Regions from separate parts of the Homo sapiens genome. Here region 2 is linked to region 1. The links are contacts of gene promoters, found by promoter capture Hi-C in human tissues and cell types (Jung and others, 2019). All regions are on one chromosome and are shown on one strand. Each heading gives the region's core, a stretch centred on a gene start or on the middle of the fragment in contact. The rest is flanking DNA. Distances are from core to core; before and after follow the strand shown. Region 1 holds the start of RTN4RL2 (reticulon 4 receptor like 2). Region 2 holds the start of DTX4 (deltex E3 ubiquitin ligase 4).

Region 1 (3,536 bases), core at 647-3,146:
CTCCCCCCAGGCGCAGGCCCTAGTCGGGGTGGGTCCTGGGGAAACGCAGGGTCCTGTCCTGCCTCCTGGAAATAGGGGGAGCCCTGGGTGAGGGAAGACGGGAGCCCCAGAGACTTTTCTTTCTGTTTCTACCTGATCCGAAAACGAGAGGGGCGGGAAAGGAAATTTAGGGGCACAGAGAGGAGCTGGGGGGCCGAGAAGGTCCGAAAATGGAACCAGCAGGGGGCACCCGAGAGCCGAGGTGCCCACGGGCCGGGAGCCTGGGAATGAAACTGGGGAAGAGGGGGAGAGAAAGGGAGGCAGAGACACCGAGACACACAGAGACGAGAGACAGAGACGCAGGGAGCCCCGCGGGGAGGAGGAGAGAGACGAAGACACAGAGAGACAGTGAGAAAGACAGAAGACCGGGCAGGGAAACAGACGAGTAGAGACAGAAAAGGTCCGAGAGAGAGTGAGGGAGGGAGGGAACAGAGAGACAGAGACCACGAAATATGAGTAAGAGTCGGGGGAGAAAACCAGAGAAATCGAATGAGAACGCGAGAAGAACGAGAGACCGTGGAGGGAGCAGAGAATGAATGGGAAGAATAAGACCAACATTTATCAAGAGCCGACTGTATGCCAGGCACTGCATTGGACCCTGGCACGGATAGGAAAGGAGGAGCCGCGGCGCGGGCAGCGGGGCGAGGGGCTTCTGTGCTCGCGGGAGCGGCAGCCCAGGGGGCTCAGCAGCCCCGGCACCGCCGCACCTGAGGCTCCAGCAGCCCCAACCCCGCCAGCGCTGCCTGGCCACCGTACCCGAAGCGGCTCCCCCGAGGGCCCCGAGCCTATCCTACGCCGGGGCGGCTCCGCGGACGCGCCGGGCCGAGTCAAGACCTGGGTCAACCGCCCTGCAGCCTTTGTAGGGAAGTGCCTAGGTGATGGGTCTGCTGATACCGCCTGTGACCAGGCCATGAAGGGCCAGAGGGGCTCCAGTGAGACCATAATCCGCCCCTCTTTAAAAGGGGGTAGAGGAAGTTCACGCGAAGCCAACAGTCTTCTCCCCAGCTTTGGGTCCTCTCCTGCACCCCCGCGGGAGATAAGGTCTCCCCTCCCGGACACATCATACATACACAAAAAAACGCACACACTCGCACGCGCGCCCATCTCGCACCCGCTTGTAAATGCACTAAGGGGCATACACACACCGGGCACATATTTCTTTCCACCCATCCCCAAGATCGCAAGCGCAAAACCTCGCACAGCCTCACGTTTCCCACCAGCTCAGACATGCACGCTGGCGGACTTTCAGCGGCTCACCCGTGTGCACACTCACGTGCCCCCCCCCCCGCTTCCCCAAGCCCGTACAAAGGGTAACGGGCAAGCATCCTGAGTCACACCTGCACAAGCATCCTTGCGCGCACGTGCACGCTCATATGCACTCGATCTTGCACGCACAAACTCTTGCATATACTATTCTTATAGTCGCACACTGGGCTTGAGGTCTGGGAGTGGAAGGAAAAGTGGAATCTTGGAGCTGTCCCAGGGGACAGAAATGCTGGAGGCTGGGACACTGGCGCGAGGGACGCGGCTGGGGGCGGGGGAGGGGGTGACCCAGAAGCTCATCTTCTCCTGGAAAGTTGGGAGGGGGGAACAGGACAAGTCCACGGCGTTCCTCTAAACTACCGCATTCCCCCAAGAAGGGATTTCTCTAGAAGAGTGGCGCCGCGAGGACGATCGAACACAGTCCTCCGGGTCGCTTAAGCGGGGGGGAGGGGGGCGGGGTGGAGGGGGTTAGAAAGCCGCTCCCGCCTCCTAGTGGTCGAGAAAGGGTTAAGTCGGCAAGCCAGCAAACGAGGGAGGAGCCAGCGAGTGCGGGAAGGAGTGGGGGTGGTTGGGAAGAGCTTCCTCGCTGTCCCCACTCTCCCTCGGCTAGCAGCCTGGGCACACGGACAGACGGACTGACGGACTCTCGAGCGGACAGCGCAGCTAGCGGGGCGCGGGCGCTGGGCGTCGACGGCCAGCCCCAGCCTTCCCCGCCCCGTCGCGCCCCGCCCCGTCCCGTCGGGGCCGATGGCTCCTCCCGAGGCCCGCAGCCCGGGCGGCGCAGGGTAGAGCGCCGCGGCCCGGCCACGCAGCCCGGGGACTCCCGGGCCCTCCCGGAGCCCCGCGGGGTCCCCGCCGTGCATCCGGCGGGCTCAGGGAGCGAGTGGGAGCGCCCTCCCCCCGCTGCCCCCTCCCCCGAGCATCGAGACAAGATGCTGCCCGGGCTCAGGCGCCTGCTGCAAGGTAAGAACGCCAGCGGCGGGAGAGCGGAGGGCATCCTGGGGAGAGAAGCAGGGCGTCCCCTCTTTCAGGGATTGAGGGTGGGGCAGTTGGGGAGGTGGGGTAACCTGGGGAAGGGGAAAAGCTCAGCGCTGGGGCCGCGCCCCCGCCGCCAGGGCTGTTCTCAGCAGGAGGGCACTTGGCTGGGAGCCCGCGGGCGCGTGCGAGGAGCTCGTGACCGAGGTGGGACGCAGGGGGCAGGTGGACCCGGCCCGGAGCGGGGAGGGAGGCTCAGGTTCCGCTGTCCCCGCTCCACCTGCTCCGGGGGACGCTGAGGACTCGGGCCGGCTGGGGAAGCGCCGACTCAGCAACTCCTCCTGCCCGGTGCCTCAGCACTTTCTGGCCACCTGGGAAGACAGGAGATGTGGGTAGGGGGCTGTCTGGGGAGGTAGGAGGCGCAGAGGGAAATCCAAGTGGCCCTCTCTGGTAGGAGAGATGGAGGGCGCTAGAAAGAGGATAGTTCTACTGATTGAGTGACAGATAAGGGTGTGGGCCAGAGACTGGGGGTGGGGTGGGGAGGGGTCAGGGGGAGAGGGATAGGAAGGAGAACTCAAAGATGGAGAAAGTGGTGAGGGAAGCTCAAAGGAGGAGGGAGATGGAGCGGGGGAGGGGGAGAAGGAATAAAGGTTAGATGGGAAAAGCGTGGAGGGAAGTGGGACCCAGGTGAAGACCAAGGAAGAGGGAAGGAGAGGAAAGACCAGATCAGGGGAGGGATGGGAAGAAGACTATGGACAGGGACCCAGAATCCTGGGATGGAGGTAGCGGGAAAGAGAATCAGGACTGGGACCCTGGGGACTGGAATGGAAAAGGAGAATGGAAAGATCAGAAACCAGAGAAGGATGGGGATGGTGACTAGAGAAGGGGTATCAGGAACCGGCGAAGAGGGTTGGAGACAGGGAACCATGGATGGGAGAGGGGCTGGAGAGGAGGGAAGAGGAGGAGGAAGAGAAAGGCTGAGAGAGAGGGACTGGGGATTGGGGGTGCTGCCCAGGGATGAGACAAAGAGGCTTCTGGTAACCACTTCCACGTGGGAAGCCCTCCATTCCCAAAGCGCCTGCCTGCCACATTTCTTCTCTCAGGGAGTGGCTGGTGGGCCAGATGGGGGGTGCTTTGAGCTCAGGGCCCTGGGGGTGGCTGTGAGGGACAGAGGGTGAGGACTTTGGAAGGGGAGTGACAGCCTCCGAGGGTGGGCAAACAGGCTGGCTCCTGTGCTGCCATTTATTTATCCGGCCTGG
Region 2 (3,389 bases), core at 201-2,700, 1.7 Mb after region 1:
TCCTTAAGTCCTGTCATTTGTAAAATGGTAATAATAATGGCCTATGATATAATTAGTCGAGGTATCCTTGTTTTCTTTTTGTTCTTCTAATTCTGAAACTCGACATTTTAATGAGTGGTATTGTTTAGGTTGGATTAGGAACAGTCCCCAAATAAGGGAGAGGCCGACTAGGCATTTTGGAGGCCAAGCTGTGCAAGAAGACCAGAAAGAACAAAGCTCAGAGGTTCCTTGAGCCTGGTGCCTTTAGGGGCCTGAAGAAGAACAGATCTCACACTTTTTCTTTTGCTTTGTATTTAGAACTCTGTTGGGAGAAAGATAAAGGTAGAAGGATGCAAAATTCTAACAATGGGAGAAATGACAGCTGCAAGGAGAGGGAGGGGGAAGCAACTCTTCTAAAACATAAAAGGGTCATATGATATTTATGAAAAAATTGATTATTTCAAAAAGATTCACAATCCCATTCTCTAACACATAATCTATTTTTACTTTCCCGCATCCTATAACTTGGATCTTGATAAGACTCGATTCGTTGTTTTATGTGGTTTGCAATCTCAACAAAACAAAATTTGTGTTCTTTGACAAGGATAATGCATAATCCTGACTTCAGTCTTCCCTTTTAGTCAGAACCTACCTATTTAAGGTTATTTTCCATATTAACTATTGATGATCAAAATAAGTCTAACTCGTGTTTTTCCTAGTGTTTCATAATTTTAGTTACAGAAACGATGCAGATAAAATTAATCTAACATGCGTCTTCCTGACTCTAGTACGTTGAATCTGGCCAGAAAAACCACATTTGCTCTCTACGTAGGTAATATAAATCCATCATTAGCGAAATTGCTGCATCCCTTTGGACTGGGTCTCATTAGCAGAGGTTGGAGTGGCCACTGGCCGGCACACGACACTTTAGGCCAGCAGGGGGCGGGTAAGCTCCAGGGCACTCGCCCGAGCAGCAGGGGGCGTGTCTTCTGCTTCCTTGACGGACAGCTAAGGATGCGGGAGAGGATGAGGTAATAGGAGCCGGGGCAAGGAAGGAGTTGGGGTGCGCGCGCGTGTGTGTGCGACTGTGAGTGTGCCAGTGCGTGCGCAAGCCCCGAGACAATGCGTGTCTCCAGTTCGCGCTGCGGACACTGATCATGCTGCATTAAGGAAAAAAAAAGAGAGAGAGAGAGAAAATTACATTTGGGGGAAGGAGGCTGCAAAGTTGCGGCTGGGCGACAGTGGTGGTCCCGGGGCCGTGTCATGGCGGGTCGCTTCTCTGCATCAAGGAACCAGGGAAACACACGCGGGCGCGGGTTTGCCTTAGCGCCCTGCTTGGGAGGGGTGGTTCATTCTGGAAGGAACTGAGCAGAGCCACAGGCAGGGGGAGCTCTCCCAGCGGCGGGGACTGCAATTCGTGCGGCGAAGGGGTGGGGAGGGAGGGAGAGAGGGGAGGGGACCAGAGCGTGCCATTCCGAGCGCGGCCGTGCGGCGAGATCCCACCCCGGCGTCTGCAGAGGCCGAGGCGCAACTGGTGCGAGGGCTGGGTCCTTGCCTCGCCGTCAGCCCCAGCTCGCGGCCGCCGGGGCTCGGGCCGCGCGCCCGCCGAGTGGCTTTTGCAAGGCGGGGGCCTGTTTGCAGAGAGCCGGGCATTTGCATGAAGCGACTCGACCCCACAGAGCAGCGGCAGCAGCAGCGGACCCCGGCGGCGGCGGCGGCGCGCGGTCCCAGCCAGGCGGCCCCGGTGTCCCGGCCCCGGTGGATGCACGGCTGGGGAGGAGCCCATGGGCCGGAGCTGAGGCTGCCCGGGGCGGCGGGGCGCGGGGCAGGGGGCGCGGTCGAGGCCCGGAGGCGGCGGCGCAGGAGGAAGCGGAGGAGGTCGGGCGCTCGGGGCCCGGGAGGCGGGCCGCGCAGCGCCGCAGCCCCGGGCTCGCCATGCTCCTGGCCTCGGCCGTGGTGGTCTGGGAATGGCTGAACGAGCACGGCCGCTGGCGTCCCTACAGCCCAGCGGTGAGCCACCACATCGAGGCGGTGGTCCGCGCCGGCCCCCGCGCGGGGGGCAGCGTGGTGCTGGGCCAGGTGGACAGCCGTCTCGCGCCCTACATCATCGACCTGCAGTCCATGAACCAGTTCCGCCAAGACACGGGTGAGCCAGCCGCCCCTGACCCCGCCCCGCCTGCTCCCACCTTCCCAACCTGCCAAGGTACCTCCCTCCCTGTGAACCCACCTTGGCCACCTAGTCGGCACTTCTGTGCAGCAGTGTCACCAAGAGGTGGTGGTGGGAGGCGATTCACTCCGCTGAATCCTCGCAGGATCCTCCCTCCCCCTTAAACATCCATGCAAATAGTATCAGTGTTGTGGTTTTGCAAACCCAGCTTCAACCTAGTCGGTAACAATCCACTCCCCACCCCTTTCATGCCCCCGCTTTTCAGCAGTTGGTGGCCCTAAGTCTTTCTATGTAGAAATTCTAGGGCCGCCCCAGACTACAGGCAATCCCAGCCCTTCGCAAAGGCTTCCTGCCCTCATCCCGTGGCGGCCGGCACCTTGGCTGACCTGACCCTGTTTTGCTTCAGGCACGCTGGGGCTTGCCACACGTCCCCTCACCCCCGATCTCACTGCCTCTGCGTCTCCTGTGTGGGATGCCTCCCCGCAGCTGGGTCCTGGGTGTGGGAACTGGGGGAGGAAGAAGGGATTCCCCGGAGGTTCTCGCTACAGTCGGGTAAGGGAAGCGCCGGGCTCCCTGGGAGGAGAGACTAGGGCTGGGGTACCCTGGACGCCGCGGCATTGGCGAATGCCTCTGCTACACACTACATGCGCGGAAGCAACAGGCCGGAGCAGATGGAGAGAGGAGGGGGAGGCTCGGGGCTTCGGAATGCATGGCAGGGAAGCCGCTCCCTTTGTCTGCGGAGGAGGAGGACGCAGATTCCTAAGGAGAAACTGTCCCCAGGCTTCCTCTTGAAACCATAGCCTGTAAGGAACCCATGGTCTCCTGGAGCGCCAAACTCCTATCTTTTCATGAGAATCAAGTTGTCACTGTAGCCAGCACAAACCCGCTTCCCAGCTGACCTGCCTTTCCAGGTCAGAGCCAGGAAGGGAGCCTCCAGGATGGGGCCTTGGGGGGTGGGGAGTGGGGGTGCTGCCCAAGGGAGAGCAAAACTGCCTCTCTTTGCTCGGTCCTTGCTTAATCGATGACCCGGGAAGAGTTTCTGCCTCCGTCAGTGACAGGTGGGGAGGGGGCCATTGTTTCTGGAATTCTGGCTCGGCTTTCCCAAGAGTGCAACCGAGGAGCCTGGAGAGGCCGGTGTGCTGGGGAGGACGTAGAGAAGATGACTCGGAAAGGCCCTCCCCAGTGAACAGCTGTTTGAGCAGAGTCTCTCTGCTTCCTTGGAAAGCCCCCACATCCTGTGTGC

Evidence for each region. The method cuts DNA at HindIII sites, captures the fragments that hold promoters and counts their contacts. A contact is called where the count stands out against the background at its distance.
Region 2: a contact is called between the fragment with the promoter of DTX4 here and the fragment with the promoter of RTN4RL2 in region 1, in 1 of the 25 tissues and cell types used here (neural progenitor cells).

Annotation. Positions count from the first base shown.
Region 1 is chr11:57,458,632-57,462,167 of GRCh38, forward strand. RTN4RL2 (reticulon 4 receptor like 2) reads left to right here and starts at 1,897. Exons shown (of 3, transcript NM_178570.3): 1 at 1,897-2,265. The coding sequence starts at 2,235. RefSeq lists silencers at 745-804, 1,904-2,173. The HindIII fragment of the contact is 24,381 bases long and covers 1-3,536 here.
Region 2 is chr11:59,170,682-59,174,070 of GRCh38, forward strand. It overlaps DTX4 (deltex E3 ubiquitin ligase 4), which reads left to right and starts at 1,451. Exons shown (of 9, transcript NM_015177.2): 1 at 1,451-2,125. The coding sequence starts at 1,915. It overlaps LOC124902601 (basic proline-rich protein-like), which reads right to left and starts at 2,764. Exons shown (of 2, transcript XM_047427951.1): 1 at 2,584-2,764; 2 at 1-2,049. The coding sequence starts at 2,764. The coding sequence ends at 1,241. LOC124902675 (a long non-coding RNA gene) reads right to left here. Exons shown (of 4, transcript XR_007062682.1): 4 at 3,018-3,389. RefSeq lists enhancers at 588-1,128, 1,215-1,509, 2,137-2,965, 2,408-2,517 and silencers at 1,388-1,957, 2,018-2,067. The HindIII fragment of the contact is 18,272 bases long and covers 1-3,389 here.